2 separate regions of the Homo sapiens genome follow, and region 1 is linked to region 2. Evidence: promoter capture Hi-C in 16 types of primary human blood cells and fetal thymus (Javierre and others, 2016). All regions are on one chromosome and are shown on one strand. The core of a region is centred on a gene start or on the middle of the fragment in contact, and the rest is flanking DNA. Distances in the headings are between cores, read along the strand shown. Region 1 overlaps GNG5 (G protein subunit gamma 5). Region 2 holds the start of BCL10 (BCL10 immune signaling adaptor).

What was found. Contacts are between HindIII fragments. The CHiCAGO score rates a contact against its expected background, and 5 or more counts as called.
Region 1: a contact is called between a fragment that was not itself captured here and the fragment with the promoter of BCL10 in region 2, in 1 of 17 cell types (monocytes). The highest score is 6.4, in monocytes.

The regions. Positions count from the first base shown.
Region 1 is chr1:84,498,365-84,502,595 of GRCh38, forward strand. GNG5 (G protein subunit gamma 5) reads right to left here. Exons shown (of 4, transcript NM_005274.3): 3 at 3,462-3,606; 4 at 1-184. The coding sequence ends at 3,481. Among named protein-coding and RNA genes, the nearest start is that of SPATA1, 5.9 kb to the right of the region's middle. The HindIII fragment of the contact is 549 bases long and covers 1,885-2,433 here.
Region 2 is chr1:85,274,241-85,278,545 of GRCh38, forward strand. It overlaps BCL10 (BCL10 immune signaling adaptor), which reads right to left and starts at 2,392. Exons shown (of 3, transcript NM_003921.5): 1 at 2,056-2,392. The coding sequence starts at 2,112. BCL10-AS1 (BCL10 antisense RNA 1) reads left to right here and starts at 2,118. Exons shown (of 2, transcript NR_045484.1): 1 at 2,118-2,557; 2 at 3,401-3,848. RefSeq lists enhancers at 1,585-2,784, 1,990-2,692. The HindIII fragment of the contact is 19,185 bases long and covers 1-4,305 here.

The DNA.
Region 1 (4,231 bases), core at 909-3,408, 780 kb before region 2:
TATATAAAACAATTACCCTTGTGAAATAGAAATTCATGAAAATTCAGAGAGGTAGATGTTAAGGACTGACGAAAGTAGAAGTTTGTATATTATGGCACATGTGTTACAGGGATAAGCTTTTGTACAGGCTTCAAATGTAGCTCTCTTGAATATTCACTGGATCATAAGGAGTGGTTTGGGAAACCTAAGATGGGGAAAAAAAAAAAAAGGTGAGTTAGGGTAAAGTATCAAAGAACATAGTTTTTAATTTTTTTCATGAATAACTTAAAAGAAGCAGGATGGGAAATGCCTATGGTCCAGTAACAGTAAAATCTTTCCCTTAATTTTCACAACCACTCTGATGTATAAGTCATTCCTGTTTTATAAACAGACTTACAGATTAACTTGCTAAGATTACTGCCAAAATACATTCTGTATATAATAAAAAAGGTTAATAAAACTCTCTTAAATCAAAAATCCAAACATCCTTAGAAAAATGAGCAAGACTATATTTAGCAGGGCAGTTTGGCAGTATCTAGTGAAGTAAAGGATGCAACCACACTTCTAGTTACCTAGATAAACCCAGACATAGAGAAACATGTACAAGGATACTGACTGTATTAGTATTTTAACAGCAAAGAACTGAAACAGCCTAAATATAACTCCGTAGGAGAATGGATAAACGAAGGTTTCTACATATGATGGAATACAAAGCTATTATAAGTTATGCCTTAAAAAATAAGTTATGTTTTCAAACCATAATATTTCAGTTTAATAGAGTATAAACTAAAAGATTTAAAAAATGAAAACATTAAATTGAAAAACAGTGTACTAAAAAATTAAAACATGAGCATACTAACTTTAGGATTAGTTATTGATATGGAAAGGTACAAAAGTGTTAATCTGAGATAGTCTGTGACAAAAATGTTGAAAAGGCATAAACAGAATGCTGTGAAAAATGTTTAATCTCACCTAAAATAGTGACAGAAAAGACTAAGGTTTGTTAGGACTCAAGGAAAAAACATTCTCATGTTTCTAGTGGAAGGCCAAAGTATTATATTGGCAGGGGATATCAAGTACAACGTTGTAAAAATGTTAAACGTTCACTCCTTTTTACTTCTAGAAACTTAATAGAGGTACTAAGTATATATAGATGTTCACCAAAATCTTCACCTCACTGTAACCTCAAATTTTGGAAACTTAAATATTCAGTGAAGTATAATTCCATCATAGTTTAGTACAACCATTAAATATCTTGTTTACAAAGAGTATTTAATGAAATAAATTCATTTAAAAAAGGCAGAATGAAAAACGGCGAATACTGTCAATAAGCCTGTCGTCTTATCTGCATTTTTTTGTGCATACATGTTCTACTGATTAACAGTTTTTAATCCTGTGTTATTCTATTTTGTTTTGTGTAAAAGAGGAAAAATTTCAAAAGCTGGAATCTCAAAAAAAATAGTAAAATTTCCTCTTAAAAGGAAATACAGGGCCGGGCACGGTGGCTCACGCCTGTAATCTCAGCATTTTGGGAGGCTGAGGTGGGCAGATCACCTGAGGTCAGGCGTTCGAGAAACGCTGTCTCTACCAAAAATACAAAAAGTAGCCGGGCGTGGTGGTGTGCACCTGTAATCCCAGCTACTCAGGAAGCTGAGGCAGGAGCACTTGAACCTTGGAGGCAGAGGTTGCAGTGAGCCGAGACTGCGCCACTGCACTCCAGTGATAAAACTGTATTTATATACATAACTCCAATGTAGATTCTTTACATTCATGCCACTCAGTGTAGGTCCAGTACTGTCAGCATCAGTGTAGGTGGGCAGTTGTAAGAAATGCAAGTTCTAGGGACTCACCTCAGACCTTCTGAATTAGAATTTGCATTTTAACAAAGTGATTTGCATATATTCAAGCTTGAGAAGCAATGCTTTGATGCCCAATTATTATTCTCCTAGCCCAAACTGCTGCAAATCTTAATATCCACAAAGCTGTTTTCTTATACTGCTGGGATTAATAGACATTATTTTACCTTCTGGGTTCTTACCCCCAGCCATATTTTTAAACTTGAGCAATTCATTTAAACACTTATCTGTAGATTCCTATGAAGTAAAACTATTAACAGCTGCCCAGTATTTTATTCAAATGAAAATAAACCACTGTAAAGTGAATACAAGAACTGAGGTTAAAAAAACAATCATTAATAAACCATAAAAATATGAAACTTCCAAAAACTACCATGAAGAATTAAATGAATAGTACCAGAAACAAAGGATATTATAATAAACTGTTAAATATGAAAGTGAATTACTTCTTCATGTGCATTTTTGTGCACATGACACCTGTTTTCAAAGGGCTTTTTTTCCCCCTGGTATTTCAAAAAACTTAAACATCTTAACCAATCATTGTATTTACTGGAAACATGTACTTATACAGACTTCCTGGACACTCCCAGGTCTAGGAAGCTTAATTAAGGAGGGCACAACTATGTAACAAGGTATTTTAGGAAGCAGCTTCCTGGACTTTGGAGAAGTCAGAAAGTTAGTAAGGGGTGTGTGCCATATACAAAATCTTTTTTAAAAAAGTACTATTAGTTTAAGTTTGCTTCTCATAGGTCAATACTAATGAGTACATTCCCTAACTAAAGTACTAAGAATTTATAAAAGGCAGCACCCTTCAGTTACATTTTAAATGATCCAAAACGTTTTTGGTCACATCTCTTAGATTAACATACATTTTGTACACATGACATTTGATCTGGAAGGCACAAATTAATGTACTGAAGCATGCTTTAATAAAGCCAACAGGGTCTTTAGTTTTTAATTCTCTGAAATTCAGTCCACTGTCTGTTTGCCACCAAGAACTTATATACTGCATTTCCTTCATGTTTTATCTTTAATCTAACAAATGAGAACAAAATATAAAGTCTGTTCTACCTCAGTCCAAACGCCTCTACCACACTGGCTTACTCAATTACATCTGACTTTCTCTTGCATTTCCAATTCCCAATCTTTGCTATACTGCTCTACAGCTGGGTTCAGTTAGAGCAATAACATCAAGAGTTAATCCAAATCAGTTGGTAGTACTTTAAGTTATCCCCATAAACATTGCAGATTTTTTAAAAACTGTCTAAATATTTGCCAGGTACACAAAAACAAAACTAGTACTTGGGGACTCCATTAGGCCAATGCTCTAAAAAGTAACACATGGCTTGTTACGGCAGTGGGATTTTGTAGTAACTCTCCTATACCCTCTTTATGGTTATTAAATCCTCTACTTAACCTTCTTTATGGTAAAATAGAAACGATTAGCCTTCATGGCTACTAAGTCAGCAAGTTTCATGAATCCTCACTTTCCTTGCAAAACAGAAAAATACTGGAAATGGAGGGCCAAAGGAAAGGGCATGGGATGATCTTTTAAGTGCTGCAAAGAAAGAGAAGACTAGTTATTCCTACAGTGTGGGTTTTTGTTTTAAATTTAAGGAAACTTACCTTTGAAAGATTCATTTTACTACAAAAAGGAACAGACTTTCTGGGGTCTGAAGGGATTTGTACTTGAAGATACTCCAGTCAGCAGAGGGTCATGTTGAGCATTCTGCAGACAGAACTGTTTCAAGTCTGCAGCTGCCTGGGAAACCTATACATAACAAAGAGGGGGGGAAGTGCCAGATGGTGAGAACATTTTAATGAAGGTTTTCTCAATCTTTGGAAATATTGTACTTACAATAAAACAGTACTTCTCTTGCTTCAAAAGAAGATACTATATAATAATTGAAGACTTAAGTCAAATAGTGAGCTCTTTTTTTTTTTTTTTTTTTTTTTGAGACGGAGTCTCACTCTGTTGCCAGGCTGGAGTACAGTGGTGCGATCTCGGCTCACTGCAACCTCCGCCTCGGTTCAAGCGATTCTCCTGCCTCAGCCTCCTGAGTAGCTGGGACTACAGGCGCACGTCACCACGCCCAGCTAGTTTTTCTATTTTTAGTAGAGACGGGGTTTCACCGTGTTGGCCAGGATGGTCTCTCTCTCTTGACCTCGTGATCCGCCCACCTCGGCCTCCCAAAGTGCTGAGATTACAGGTGTGAGCCACCACGCCCAGCCTAGTGAGCTCTTAATACTTAAAACTAGTGCTTGCAAATAAGACTGATTTAATTAAGTATGTTTTCTTTTGCTTGGTTACTAGAAGCATCAGATGACTGAGTACAAACAGTAGAATTATGTTGATTTTTGCAAAGCGTAGCACATCTTGCTTATTAATAATAGGC
Region 2 (4,305 bases), core at 1,142-3,641:
CGAGGTATGTTTTAGCCAACACTGTATATCCTGCACTTACTAGGGCACCAAGTAGTTAATGTTTCAGTTGAATGCAAAACTCACTGCACTTATTTTGTGATTTAAAACAATCCCCCTCAAGAAATTGAGCTCTTTTCAAGTTAGGATTGTGTTTTCATTTTTAATTTTTGAACTGTTAGAACCAACCACAGTATCAGCCTCACAGTAGCATGTAATCCATATTTATTAAACTGTACTAAATCCAACTAACACAATGAGGCAAATAACTAGATAGGAGGAGGGGGAGACACTAAAGAAGTGGGAGGTCCCAAGACAAAGGGTGGTAGCACACCATTCATCAAGAAAGGCAATACAGCAGCAACAGTAAGCAACTTTGGGAAAAGGATAGTAAAAGTTCAATATTTGACAAGGTGAGCAATCTGTAGGATATAAAAGTAGATTTCCAGTAGACATTTGGAAATAAGGACCTAGAGTGGAGAGAAAAGTCCAAATATGTGGATAATTTTAAAACTCTCTAAGATCAGAAGACATTTTGAAAATATCATGAAAAAAACCTCTAAGAAAAAAGCATGCACATAGTTTCTTTCATAGACCTTTTGAAACCCATCCATGGTTTCCTCAAGGTTATTTATTTCTGATATAGGCGTAAAATGAAATCCTGAAGACAGATAACATCAATGAATTGACAGAGAAGAACAAAGACCTGGAAGCCACTCTTCACATCTGTACTTGTATACAGATCTTATTTCCTTCCACTTGTAATTTCTCAGTTCCTGTTTTATTAGCTGTAAAATGGGAATGGCAATTATCTTCTTTAGAGGTTGTTGCGAAGGTTAAGTGGGAACATTGTAAACTGTGTGACACAGCATCTGGAACATAGGAGGCCTAGCTCTTGGAAGTTCAAGGTTTTACTGGCACTCACCATGAATAAGACAACATTTATTCTACAGTAGTTATTTATGTTCCATTCTTATCTCAACTAGAATGTAAAGCAGGAAACTGATCTTCATTTTTTTGTATCCTTCCAGACCCAAGGCCAGTGCTTTCCATATAGCAAGTGCTCCATAAATCTCTGTTGAATGAGGAAACTAAGCACAACTCCCAGTCATATCCAGTTTCCTTCTGCTGGTGAGTCACACCAATTGTGAGTACAGTGTAATAAACCTTACAGGGAAGAGGAAGGGATTTGAAGTGGATGAACATTTAAAAAGTTGCCATCCTGTCCAGTTCATCAAAATGACTTTGTAAAAGTACTGCAGTGTTCAATAAGAACACGTTTCATGTTGAGTTTCTGTTTTTCATTTGACTTCAGATAAAGTATTTTAGTGATACTCATATAGGTCTCATCTGACAAAACAAGTAAACGCAAAGGAAAAAGAATGTCATATCTCAACAAAGCCATTCGTTACGAATAAATATGAAGGTTTATGTGGTTCTGCACCATCCGAGAAGAGCATAATTTAGCTACTGAATATTTTCGACGTTTACCTGTACATTAATTCTCAGCTACGTGTATTCACTCCCCCAACCCCAATTTAAATATGTGGGCGTCTGCTTACTAGGGGAATTCCAGGTTGTGCTTTCAGCTGTTGAGCTTCCTCAAGCCCCCTTATGCAAAAGAGCTTCACATTTTTGGTCCACTGCTTGGGATCCTTCACCTGGTACAGCCTTCGCTCTAGGCTGAGTGAGCAGCCTAGGCAGCCTGACTTAAGGATGAATCTGAGCCGCCAGTCCCTAACGAAGCATCTCCAAGAACCCAGTTGGGGGGAAAGCATGAGGAGATGGGTGAGGAGTGGGCAAGAATCAAAACACCACTTGGCAACAAAGCCCAAGCTCTGCGTTTAGCGATGTAAAACCTGGATTGACAGATCACTGGAGGATCACTGCCACCAAGGTCCCTCGGATGCAGGGCTCGCCACAGTCCTCCTGTGCTAGGACTTTCCGCTCCTCCGACCTGGAGGATCCTCCTTGTCCTCGGACTCCAGGCTTCCGCTTTCGTCTCCCGCTGGGCTGCAGCCCGCCCCCGCCCGCCCTGGGCACAGCTGCGTTACTCACGTCCTTCTTCACTTCAGTGAGGTCCTCCTCGGTGAGGGACGGTGCGGTGGGCTCCATGGTGGAGGCGGGAGATGGCGCTTCTTCCGGGTCCGGGAGCTCGGGCTGCGCCGCCCCGCCCTGGCTGGGGGCTTCGGCCTCCGGGTAATGGGGAAGAAGGAGAGGAGGCGGAGCGGGTCGGGAGAAAGACGGCCGCCCCTTCGGGAACAGAGGGACTCGGGGGTCAAACCGTAGCGCTTCCGGCCCCGCCTCTGAGGTCGACGGCGACGCGAATCTACGCGACGCGACGCGGAGCTCGGAGCAGCGTTCCTTCCCTCTCGTAGAGGCTCAGGCGCAGGCACCGCCCCACGGCGAGGCGCGTCGCTTAGCAGAGCCCGCCCTGTCTCTGCGGCAGCCTATCGACGCCAGCCCGCGGGCCGATCCTGTTCCCGCCCCCGACCGGAGCCTTTCGGGTGGCTCCGCCCACAGCGGGCGTTTCCTCAAGCCACGCCTGCGCAGGTCGTCGGTAAGTGGCCCGGGTTAGCTTCCTCATAAGGCATCGTTTCCGTGGGTGGGGTCCGTCAGTGCCCAGGCAGCTGGCACTCTCAGCCTTTGCTGCCTGCTCACTTCGGGGGAGTCCGGTCTGGGCTTGTCAGTACCTTGGGTTCCTCCCCTTTTCCCAGACCCTGCCCTACAATTTCCTGTTGTTACGTTTGCCAGTTACTGTTTTGGTCACACACAAACGCACTCATACACACATACACATGCATACACACAAACAGCCTAACTACAATACTAAACAAATTTTTGAAAGAAAAAAAGAAACCACCTACAATCCCACCACTTTAACACCTCATTTAACGTTTGCATACTTTTTGGTCACTGTTCATTATAAACATAGCTTTTCCTCATTAGTTAATCTGTGTAATGGAGATAGATATGCTTACCTTTTAGGGCTGCCGGGATCATATGTAAAGTTCTTAAAGGTAGTTGGGCACACAGTATGCACTCAACTGATTATTTATTTATTTATTGAGACAGGATCTCACTCTGTCGCCCAGGCTGGAGTGCAGTGGTGCGATTCTCGGCTCACTGCAGCTTCCACCTCCAGGGCTCAGGCGATCCTTCCACCTCAGCCACCAAGCAGCTGGGAGTCCAGCTAGTTTTTTTGTATTTTTTATAGAGATGGAGTTTCGCCATGTTGCCCAGGCTGGTCTCAAACTCCTGGGCTCAAGCCATCCACCCGCCTCGGCTTCCCAAAGTGCAGGGACTACAGGCATGAGCCACCCAGCTCATCCTACTCAAACATTTATTGAGTCCTTACTAATATGTTCTAGGCAACTTATACTATGAGTCCTCCATTTTATAGGGGGAGACTGATGAAGAGACGACTATCCCCAGACCGTATTTTAACTACTATGGCGCTGTGTAAGAAGCAACCTGAGAAGTGTGGATGAAAAGCTACAGGTAGAGCCCTGGGCCCAAGACGGTGGCTTGGACAACATGCTAAATAAACTATAAACTAGATGGTATTTGAAGCTACGAGAGTAGATAAAAATGACAGGAGGACCAAGGAGAAACTTGGGAACGCCAATGTTTAAGAAACGGGAAAGCAAAAAAAAAAAAAAACACACACAAAAAAACAATGTAACCAGAGCCACAAAAACCAGAATCACAGCAAGGGATTCTGATGTTTACATTATGTCCTGTTTCCATGTTGACACATTACACAAGGACAGTTTTTTTCTAATTGCTTAATTTTTCATCATCTTCCATCCGATTTACTGAACCATCCTTAACTTTAGGATGAATCCTTTCATTTAACAAATGTGTTTTGAATGTCCACTATGTGCCAGACACTGTTCTAGGTGCTAGGAAAACAGCTGTGAACAAAACCAATAAAAATCTCTTTCCTCATGGAATTTATATTCTAGTTTATTTGTGTTTGGGGCAGACGAGGTAGGCACTTGAAAAATTTTATCTAAGTTTATTTATTTATTTATTTGGAGACAGAATCTCGCTCTGTCACGCAGGCTGGAGTGCAGTGGCACGATCTCTGCTCACTGCAACCTCCTCCTCCCAGGTTCAAGTGATTCTCCTGCCTCAGCCTCCCCAGTAGCTGGGATTACAGGCGCATGCCACCACACCCGGCTATATCTAAGTTATTTTAAAAAAATAATTAATTAATTTATTTTTTTGAGACGGAGTCTCACTCTGTTTCCCAGGCTGGAGTGCAATGGCACCATCTCAGCTTACTGCAACTTCTGCCTCCCG